4 separate regions of the Homo sapiens genome follow, and all the other regions are linked to region 2. Evidence: promoter capture Hi-C in 16 types of primary human blood cells and fetal thymus (Javierre and others, 2016). All regions are on one chromosome and are shown on one strand. The core of a region is centred on a gene start or on the middle of the fragment in contact, and the rest is flanking DNA. Distances in the headings are between cores, read along the strand shown. Region 1 has its middle 55 kb from the start of RNF19A. Region 2 holds the start of ZNF706 (zinc finger protein 706). Region 3 overlaps SPAG1 (sperm associated antigen 1). Region 4 has its middle 39 kb from the start of RRM2B.

Evidence for each region. The method cuts DNA at HindIII sites, captures the fragments that hold promoters and counts their contacts. A CHiCAGO score of 5 or more calls a contact.
Region 1: a contact is called between a fragment that was not itself captured here and the fragment with the promoter of ZNF706 in region 2, in 1 of 17 cell types (neutrophils). The highest score is 5.1, in neutrophils.
Region 3: a fragment that was not itself captured here is called in contact with the fragment with the promoter of ZNF706 in region 2 in 1 of 17 cell types (neutrophils); the score reaches 6.8 in neutrophils.
Region 4: a contact is called between a fragment that was not itself captured here and the fragment with the promoter of ZNF706 in region 2, in 1 of 17 cell types (endothelial precursors). The highest score is 5.5, in endothelial precursors.

The regions. Positions count from the first base shown.
Region 1 is chr8:100,253,830-100,256,529 of GRCh38, reverse strand. No RefSeq gene overlaps it. Among named protein-coding and RNA genes, the nearest start is that of RNF19A, 55 kb to the left of the region's middle. The HindIII fragment of the contact is 5,674 bases long and covers 1-2,700 here.
Region 2 is chr8:101,204,370-101,207,069 of GRCh38, reverse strand. ZNF706 (zinc finger protein 706) reads left to right here and starts at 1,397. Exons shown (of 4, transcript NM_016096.5): 1 at 1,397-1,635. RefSeq lists silencers at 833-1,052, 1,263-1,862. The HindIII fragment of the contact is 4,829 bases long and covers 1-2,700 here.
Region 3 is chr8:100,209,861-100,212,560 of GRCh38, reverse strand. The region is part of intron 10 of SPAG1 (sperm associated antigen 1); the gene reads right to left. Among named protein-coding and RNA genes, the nearest start is that of SPAG1, 53 kb to the right of the region's middle. The HindIII fragment of the contact is 2,224 bases long and covers 249-2,472 here.
Region 4 is chr8:102,198,200-102,200,899 of GRCh38, reverse strand. No RefSeq gene overlaps it. Among named protein-coding and RNA genes, the nearest start is that of RRM2B, 39 kb to the left of the region's middle. The HindIII fragment of the contact is 2,431 bases long and covers 43-2,473 here.

The DNA.
Region 1 (2,700 bases), core at 90-2,589, 950 kb after region 2:
TAATCTTTTTTTTTTTTTGAGATGGAGTCTCACTTTGTAGCCCAAGCCTCGAGTGCAGTGGTGCGATCTCAGCTCACTGCAACCTCCGCCTCCTGGGCTCAAGCAGTTCTCGTGCCTCAGCCTCCCAAGTAGCTGGGATTACAGGCAAACATCACCACGCCCGGCTAATTTTTTTGTGTGTTTTAGTAGAGACGAGGTTTCGCCATGTTGCCCAGGGTGGTCACAAACTCCTGAGCTCAAGTGATCCACCCACCTCGGCCTCCCAAAGTCCTGGGATTACTGGCGTGAACCACCATGCTCGGCCAAAATAATCTTATGAATATGTTGACTGCCTTGTTGACATTTCTTTAAAAGGCTAAAGATGAAATGGAAAGCTAAATGATCTTCAGAGGAATACAGCAAAAATAGTGCCCTATAGGAGGCTGGTGCATTCATTCACCCTACACCTACTTCTGGTGATACTCCCAACCAGTACCACTTCAGTCTCACCTTAAAACTAGCTTCAAAAATTCCTTGTCTCCTGGACCTTTCAACTAGCTTCAGAAATTCCTTGTCTCCTGTATCCTTCAAAGTTGGATTAATTTAGGACCAAGCCAGTTTTCCCTGGAACTCAACTCTGGGCTAGCCTTGAACAAGAGATACCTCCAGGGTATTCAAAATAAACCTTAACTCACTGAAATCTTGTTAAAACTCTTTGTACTTTAAAGCCTGTTGGAAAAATCATCTGGTAATGAGAGAAAAGAAATACAAAGATTATAATAGTATATCCTACTGTTGATTATGTAGACCACCAATTTAACTGGTAGATTCACTTCATTGTACAAATTCCCAGCTTCAGAGCACTTAATTAGTTAGCTTTTTATATTAAATGCACATAATCCACCACTCCTAACTTATTTTTCCTGGAAATTGTGTTAATTTGTAAACATGTAAGACTTTCCCTAGCCTGTTATTTAGGTAAACATATAGACAAATCACCAAAGGATAAAGTATGTGTTGAAAACTATCGGAGCTATTAATTGCTACATGACATGAGCAAAAGAAACTCCTGCTCCATAGATTGTTTTGCCTTTCCATTCACAGTCATCACGCTTCTTACAGATTCTAGTCTGTACTTGGATCTAAGGAAAAAAATTCTTTTCTCAAGGCTGCATTTCATATGGTTCCTTTTAATGGATTTGTTGTTTCATTTATTTCCTTCACTAGAGCATGAGATATCATTGCTTAACAGCCAGTGTTTACATACTGGTTGATTTTTGAATGCCAAAAATAGTATTCTAAACTTGGGGAGAGTTATGTTATTTAGGGTGGCTATTATTTAATAGCTGGATATGAAAAAGTTTGCAGTTTTAAAATTTAGTTCAGATTGGATCACTGTACATCATATGCTAGTCAGAATTTTTGTGACTTCTACCAATTTATTCGTTCAACAAAGTAGATGCTGGAAATACAGCATAGTACCAAATAAACAAACACCCTGGCTTCAGAGGGCTTGTATTAGAATTTGGAGGATACAAAAATAATAAACATATGCATGTAGCTTAAAATAATGGAACGAGATGTAAAATAACCAGATGATGATTGCTATGAAAAATTAGAGGTGGGCACAATAAGAGTGACTGGGATTTTGGGGAAGCAGTACTGTTTTATACAGGGCAGAACAGGAAAAGTCTCTAGAAGACATTTGTCCCAAGATCTAAAGGAAATGAAGGAACCATGTAAAAACATACCTGGTGAATGAGCATTTTCAGAAACATCTCCAAGGTGAGTTAGTGGACAATTTAGACATCAGTCTTGGAATCTGAATTTGCTATCTAATAGGGCAAGTCTGCCACTGTTTTTTCCTTGGATGGTGTCTTGACTGTCCTTGGCACTTTATATTTCCATAAACATATTAGAATAACCTTGTTGTGTTTCACTAATTTTGATTGGGATTACATTGAATCTATAATTATCCCCATAGAATTCTTTTACATCTTTTGTTAAATTTCATTCCCAGGTACTTGATATTTTTTATCCTATAATGTATATTTTTAAAATGTCATTTTCTTTCTTTCTTTTTGAGAAAGAGTTTCATTCTTGTTGCCCAGACTGGAGTGCAGTGGTGCGATCTCAGCTCACTGCAACCTCTGCCTCCTGGGTTCAAGTGTTTCTCCTGCCTCAGCCTCCTGAGTAGCTGGGATTACAGGTGTCCCACCACCACGCCCAGCTAATTTCTTGTATTTTTAGTAGAGAAGGGGTTTCGTTATGTTAGCCAGGCTGGTCTCAAACTCCTGACCTCCAGTGATCCACCTGCTTCGGCCTCCCAAAGTGCTGGGATTACAGGCATAAGTCACCACGCCCAGCCTCATTTTCTGTTTGTAACTAATAGTATAGAGAAATGCCATTGATTTTGTATTAACAATTTTGTATCTGGTGAATCTTACTCTTTTAATTCCAATGGTTTATCTCCAGATTCTTTGGGATATCACTGTACAATTATCACTTGTGAATGTTTGTATTAAACACTTTTACAGTGCTTTGAAGTGTGAAATACTTTCCGAGCACTTTTAAAATAGTAACTTATGGAAAAGCAAACAATAAAAGAAAAATATAACTTATCAAGTTTACTTATATAACAAACCTGCACATGTACCCCTGAACTTTAAAGTTAAATTAAAAAGTAATATTAGGTTTACCTTGAACAGTGAATAGGGGTCA
Region 2 (2,700 bases), core at 148-2,647:
ACTAATATTCAGCCAACATTTCCTGGGCACTGCCACGCAAACTTGGGAAACGGCACTACAGGCAAGGTGAGAACAGCCAATGCAAACACTTTTTTTTTTTCTCCTTTGTCACTAGTAGTTCTAATTAGAAACGAATGTGGCGGGGGTCGGGGGTAAGTATGCACAATAAAGCTGATGTCTAAAGTACTGTTTCCAGATATTCAGCAATTTTAATCATGGTTATAATCGCCATTGCTCTTGTCAGATATTGAAAGTTTGCTGCCACTGCCTGTAAATGGAGAGAGAGCGCGCGCAAAGAACTTTAACCATTCCCCGAAGGATTAGCAACTCAGTACCGTATATTGTTAGCAGTCAAACTAAACCCCTCCGGGAAGCCTGGCCAGCAATTTTTTTTTCTTTTTTTGTTTTTTTTTTTTTTTAGGCAGGGTCTCACTCAGTCGCCCAGGATGGAGTGCAATGGCGCGATCTCGGCTTACCGCAACCTTCACCTCCCGGCCTCAAGCGATTCTCCCACCTCAGCCTCCCGAGTAGCTGGGACTACAGGCGCGGGCCACCATGCTCCACTATTTATTTTATTTTATTTTATTTTTGTGGAGACGTGGGTCTCGCTATGTACTCAGGCTGGTCTGGAACTCCTGGGCTCAAGTGATCCTCCTGCCTTGGGCTCCCAAAGCGCTGAGATTACAGGCGTGAGCCACCGCGCCCGGCCTAGCCAGCAATTTTTAATACGACTTAGGCTTGAATCTTGAACTCACTAAAAGCCCCCAGCTTGGGAAAACACCTGGGGTTTCCATGGGAGTGAGGTAAAGGGCGGCTGTGAAAGAACAAAGGCTGTGCGTCCGCGTTCAGAGCCGCTGGGTCCGCCGGGCTCGCTGGGGGCCGGGGCCGCGGTGTCCTGGGTGGCGGGGCTCCGGGAATGTGACTCAGCCACCGCGGCCCCGCGATCCGCTCCCGGGCCAGCGCCTCAGTCGGTGCCGAGGAGGGCGGCGCCGAGACGGGCGCGTCAGCCTGGGAGGAGCGGGAAAAGGGTCGCAGCGCCTGAGGCCCGGCCGCCGCCCGAGTGGATGAGCGAGCGAGCGACTTGTGAAACACGCCGCGGCCCGGTCACCAACCAGGACCGGGATCACGTGGCTCCCAGGGCTGGGTGAAGAAGCCGCCCGGACCGAGCGCGCCGGAGAGGAGGGGCGCCTGGGGACAGAAGGCGACGTCCCCTGAAGTTTGTGTCAGCCAGGGCCCGCCCCCTCGCGCTTATGTAATAGGGGCGCGCTGCCATTGGCCCGCGCGACCAGCCAGGGCGCAGGCGTGCGAGCGGGGTGGGGGCCAGAAGGAGGCAGCCGCAGAAAGGCACATGGGCGGGGCTGCGAGGAGCAGGCGGGGCGGGGGCGCCGAGGAGAGCGGCGCGGCGTGCGCGGGCACGAGGCGTAGTGGTCTCCCCTAAGGCTGAGGCGGCGGCGGGCGCGCGGCGGCGGCGGGCGTGCGAGGCTGTTGTGCTCCCGGCTCTCGTGTTTCCCCTCCTGAGCGGGTGGAGGAGGCCCAAGCGGTGCTGGGCGCGCTCCCCCTTCCTTTCCCTCCGGCGTCCTCTCCCGGCCCTCTCGCGCTGCACTGTCTCTCCGACGCAAGACTGTCCCGGCCCGGGTGAGCGGCAGCGGGGGCGGTGCTGACGCCGCGGGACGCCCGGGAAACGGGGCGGGGGCCGGCCAGCGGGGGGCGGTGGGGACCGTGGGACTCGCCGCGGGTCGCGAGGGGTCGCGGGGGGCGGCAGGGCCCGGCCCGGGGCGGGCCGCGGGAAGGGGATGAGTTCGGGCGCCTGCCAGGCCCTGCAGGTGGCCGGGTCGCAGGCCAGCCGCGGAAGCGGAGCGGTAACCTTACCCCCGGCGACAGCCGCCGGTCAGCTGCCAGAGTGTGGCGCTCCCGGTGGACGCAGGGGCCGGGTTTCGGGCAGTCTCGGCCTCCAGGAGGCGCGTCTTGGTCCAGGGTCCGTGAGGACTGGCTAGATGGGGGCTGCGTGGCCTTTGGTGGCAGGGAGGAGGAGGGGGTCTCCGAGGCGGGAGAGGCGGGTTTGGGAAGGAAGGTGCGCCAGGCTGAAGCTGGGGTCGGAGAAGTGTTGGGTGGAGACCTCACTGTGGGTGCGTTCCTCCTCTCCTCTCCCCAAAACGATGGTGTTAAAAGCTAGGGTCAGGATGTGGAGCGCTGCCTGGGCCTCTTCCTTTCCGATGGTTATGGAGAATGAGCCTACTTCCTGGACCCAAAATCCTTTTCTTCTGTTACTCATTTATGTTGGTTTTAAAAGGAGCTTTGGGGCAGAGCTTACTTGTTGCCTCCTACGAGAGCGCCTCATTTTAGAACTCGTTTCTTCCACTACTTCCCTCTTTGCAGCCCCCTCGGAAAACCACACTGAGAGTTGCATTAAAAACCAGCATGTAGGTATTTGTAAGTGACTTTTTCCCTCCAGTTTGTCGCATTTAATCAAGGAGCGGTTGTAGCTGCCTACGATTTTGTAGAAAATTGTGTTGGCTTGAGAGCAAGTCCTAAGTTGAGCTGTCCAAAAGCAGGTGGTTGGTTCGTTTGAATTTCTGCTTTCAGAAAGGAAATCGATGGGGCGTGTTGTCAGAAGTTAGGGGCCTACCTCATGCATTTAGCTTATTTTATTCCATTTCCTTTACCTGGTGTTAAGTTTTCTGTCTTCAGAATAAGAACAAG
Region 3 (2,700 bases), core at 111-2,610, 990 kb after region 2:
TTAAACTTAAAGGGAGCCTTAAAAACACAGCAAATTTTCCATCCCATTGCCTTATTCAAACTAAAAATTTCTTTGATTTTGATTAGGAGTTCAGGTATTAATAGCTTTAATAATTGTTGAATCTATTTTTAAATATAAAAAGGATGTGTAAATATTTAATTTATGGTGTCTTAGCAATATTTAAAACAAAGCAATTAATCATTTCACAGCACCGTTAAAAAGTACTTAAATATAGAGATTTCCAAGCTTTCTCTTTTAACGAATTCTTATCTGATTCTTAATGGATATATTTTCCATTCTTTTTCATGAATGGTAAAGCCAAGATTTTAAGCACAGAGACAGAGGGAATAGAAAAGCACAATTATTTAAGTGAAAATCAGTGGATGATCACCTTAAGACAAGCATCAAGTATAAAAACACATTAATAAATACTGTTTTCTATACAGCAGAATAACATCCAATTTGGATCACCAGCCAAAGGGATCTTAATTATTAAAACAATAAAAAGATTTTGCTATAAAGATAAATCTGCAGATTAAACCCAGTAGGGTTATTAGAGTAAGGCTCCAGTTTTAATCTGGTTTCTGTCAATCAGGTTCTCCACCAGAAACTGGGTGAAAGCACAAAAGTCAGGGTCGGCAGAAACAATGGTCAGCTTGGTATTACTTTCCACCCCTTTGCACAGTATCCCCTCGGGTCTGACCAATGCTATCACTAAAGAGCTGCAGTTCATTTAGAACTTGATATGGATCACATTAATCCTAATACCAAGTATTATCATTCCCACTTTACAAATGAGGCAACAGAGAAACAAGAAGCTAAGGAATGCGCTCTAGTACACAGAGCTAGAAGCCAGCATAACTCGGACTTGTTTTTATTTTTATTATTTGTTTGTATTTATTTTGACACAGGGTCTTGCTCTATTGCCCAGGGTGGAGTGCAATGGTGCCATCATAGCTCACTGCAGCCTCAACCTCTGGGGCAGGCAATCCTCCCCTTAGCTTCCAGAGCAGCTGGGACTACAGGTGAGAGCCAGCCACCATGCCTGGCTAATGTTTAAAATTTTTTATACAGATGAGGCCTTGCTATGTTGTCCAGGATGGTCTCAAAGTCCTGGTCTCAAGCAGTCCTCTCTCCTTGGCCTTCCAAAGTCCTGGGATTGCAGGCATGAGCCACTGTGCCCAGCCATAACCCAGATTTGAACTGAATGCAAAGCATTCTTACCTTAAGATTGAAATGGCTCTGAACAACTTTGATAGTCTCTGGACAGGTAAACAGAGGCCCAAACATGAAAGACTTGTGAGTTCTGTTGGGTGTTGGGATACCCGTGGGACAATGCAATGGAGCTGTTCAGAGGGTGGCTCTACATGTAGATCAGAGAAGTGGCCTTATCCAGAGACAGTGACTTGGGAGTTACTAATATATAAAAGTTTGGGGCCGGGCACGGTGGCTCATGCCTGTAATCCCAGCACTTTAGGAAGCTGAGGCAGGCAGATCACAAGGTCAGGAGTTCGAGACCACCCTGGCCAACATGGTGAACCCTGTCTCTACTAAAAATACAAAAATTAGCTGGGCATGGTATCAGGTGCCTGTAATCCCAGCTACTCAAAAGGCTGAGGCAGGAGAATCATTTGGACCCCGGGAGGTGGAGGTTGCAGTGAGCCAAGATCACACCATTGCACTCCACCCTGGGCGACAGGGCAAAACTCCATCTCAAAAAAAAAAAAAAGTTTGGGTGTGGAACTGGCAAGGTGGCTCACCCCTATAATCCTAGCACTCTGGCAGGCTGAGGCAGGAGGATTGCTTGAGGCCACTAGTTTGAAGCAAGCCTGGGCAACATAGCAAGACTCCATCTCTACAAAAAATAAAAATAAAAGTTTGGATGTGGATGGGATCACTCAAAGGCTCATAAGGATCCCTGAGATATACTAACACTTAAAGGATGAAGAGAGGAAAAATCTACAGTGTAGGCACAGAAATGCCTAGAAATGAGAGAAAAAAACAGGAGCGCATACTGCCTCAGAAACACCAAGAGTAGTTTGGGAAGAAAGGAGTCAACAATAACAACTATCAAAGGAATGAATGGCCAACAGTGTAGCCTCAAGTAGGGTAGTGTGAGTAGTTGATAGACCAAAAATCCTCAGCAAAATACTAGCGAACAGATTCAACAGCATACTGAATGGATTATACACCATGGCCAAGTGGGATTTATCCCAGGAATACAAAGGTAGTTCAGCATTAGAAAATCAATCAATGCCAACACACCTCATTAACAGAAAAAGTAAAGAATTGCATACATGATCCCACAATTGATGCTGAAAAGGCATGACAAAATCCAACATGCTTTCATGATTTAAAAAAAAAAAAAACTCAGAAAACTAGGAATAGAAGTGAAATTCCTCAACATAATAAAGTATATTTATGAAAAACCCAGAGCCAACATCATATTCAAAGATAAAAGTAATGAAAGCTTTCCCTTAAACATCAGCAACAAGACAAGGATGCCCATTTTCACCACGGCTATTCAACACTGTACTAAAAGTTGTAGACTGATCAATTAGGCACTAAAATGAAATAAAAGGCATCCAAATTGGAAAGAAAGTAAAAGTATCTCTATTCATAATTATATGATCCTATTTATATTAAAAAAAAAGAATCCACCCCCTTCACCACCCCCACCAAAAAAAACTAGAGCAATAA
Region 4 (2,700 bases), core at 9-2,508, 990 kb before region 2:
AATAATGATAATGTCCAAGTTCTGACAGTAAAAGTGTAAGCTTCACTGTATCTTGGAAGATTTATTTCTCAGGAAATTAATAAATATTTATGCATACTTTAGAGTTTACAAGGTGATTTTGCAGTCATACCATTGCAATAATTTCATTGGCTCACCAATTTTATGAGAAATTGCTGTCATAATAATATCATTATTATTATGATAACAATGATATTTGGGACTTGAAGCTCAGAGAAGTTAAGTTCCTGTCCAAAGTCACACAACTAGTAAGGGGTAGAGGCATGACCCCAACCCAGGCATCATGGTTTAAATCGCATCATCTTTTCACTGAGTGCACCCAAATTTCTATTGCTAGCTGGTGGAAGTCAAGATGATTTTTTGGTGGGATACGATCCCTTTGAGCTACACACCCTCCATAACACACTCCATTGGCAGGTGTCAATTTAGAGCTTCATTTGTCCGTCTCAAGGTCATGCGGCATGGCTTGCTGAGAATTGTGTTTGAGCATCACTTCATGACTGGAATGGCAATAATGTTTGAAGACATTGGGACTGCAAGGGCAGTTGATACTTGTTTTTTAATTACATCTGGAAAATCTTCTTTGAAAAGTTTAGTTTGTTTGTTTGTTTGTTTTTGAGATGGAGTCTTGCTCTTTCGTCCAGTCTGGAGTGCAGTGGTGTGATCTCGGCTCACTGATCCCGGCTCTCTGCTTCCCAGGTTCAAGTGATTCTCCTGCCTCAGCCTCCCAAGTAGCTGGGATTACAGGCACATGCCACCATGCCCGGCTAATTTTTGTATTTGTAGTAGAGACACGTAGAGACAGGGTTTCACCATGTTGGCCAGGCTGGTCTCGAACTCCTGACCTCAAGTGATCTGCCCACCTCGGCCTCCCAAAGTGCTGCAGTTACAGGTGTGAGCCACCACGCCTGATCCTGAATAGTTTTTTTTTTTTAAGTAAAATAATTTAAAAACGTTAAGAAAAGAAATAGTACAGGTGAAACTCACAATGGCATGTCCGGCCAGTGGCTGCATATGACAAATTTTGGAAACCTGAGAACACATCACGTGGTCTACTGTGTAAAATGTTAGATGCTGCTCAAAAAATTTAGAGGAGTTTTCCAAGAAGTCTTGCCCAGAACTTAGGGTAATAAATTGGTGGCAAATAAAGATATGCTTGCTTCAATTTATTTAAATTCCAGACTGATATGTTTCGGATTTGTGGACCCGCCCGAATCTCATGTTGAATTGTAATCCCCAGTGTTAGAGGAGGGGCCTATTGGGAGGTGATTGGATCAAGGGGGCCAACTTCCGCCTTGCTGTTCTCATGATAGTGAGTGAGTTCTCACGAGATCTGATCGTTTAAAAGTGTGTAGCACTTCCCACTTTGCTCTCTTCCTCCTACTCCGGCCATGTGAGATATGCCTGCTTTCCCTTCACCTTCTGCTGTGATTGAAAGTTTCCTGAGGCCTCCCAAGCCATGCTACCTGTACGGCCTGAGGAACCGTGAGTCAGTTAAGCCTCTTTTCTTTATAAATTAACAAGTCTCAGTTTCTTTATAGCAGTGCGAGAACGGACTAATACACAGACCATAGGTAGCACCTGTTTCTAATTCCTGCTGTCTGGTGGTTTGGATCTGTTGGAGCCAAAAGTCTCAGAGAACTTGGACTGCCCTTCATACAGTTCTCCAAGAGACAGAGTCTAACCAGCTAAAGGCAACATCCAGATACATCTCTGAGGAAAGAGACTGGTAAAAAATTATTCCAAGCATATCTTTTGTGTGTGATAAAATTCATCATCTACTCATTTCCAGGGACTCAGCTTTGTCAATGGGCACCAGAGTTCAACATAGGAAGTTTTTCTCCACCTCCAGATTTTTCCCTGCTCCTACATCCTTTCCTGGCTAGTCTCTGTGTGCTCATGGCTCTCTGTACTTATGACCGCTGTGGCACATGGTATACTGAAATTGTAACTGAGCCGCTTTAAGGTAGGGACCATGCTCTTTACGTTTTTATTGTCCTGCATTACTTGTAGCAGGTGCTCAGTATTTCTGCAATGAATGAATGGATGAGGTGACAATGATAATTAGCTGAAACAAGAAGCCTGGTGTCATGTAATCAAAATAAGCTGGTGGTTAGAATCCATCATTTATAGAGCACATGTAACTCAGATTCTTACATATGTTATCTCATTTAGTGCTCTTAACAATCCTATAGGGAAAGTATTTTTTTCCTCCTTCCCTCCACAAATATTTATTGTCTTCTAAGTGCCAGGCACTGTGTTAGGTAATGGAGATAAAACCGTGGACAAGACAGACACAATGTCTGCCCTCTGAGTGGGGTCAACACATAAATGAGAAAAGGAAATAAAACATTTCTCTCATTTTCAAGATGAGTTTCAGAGAGGTTCTGCTCCTTGTTTAAAGTGATACAGATAGATCCAGATTTCTGTCCCAGTTCTAATTGATACCAAAGCTTATGCTTTCCCCAGAATCCCCCAGTCACCTCTAATTGGCAGAGAGTTCCAACCCATCTCAAAGGGCTGGTGGCCTGGGATGGGGGTGGGGGTGGTGAGAGCTGGTAGCTGCAGGAGTGATCTGGCCCCAGGGGAGAAGCCAGCAGATGTGAGGGTCAGACGCTGCAGCAGCTGGGAGGCAACACTATTGCAGTCAGTGAGGAATTTAGTGAGCAGGGCTGATGGGAG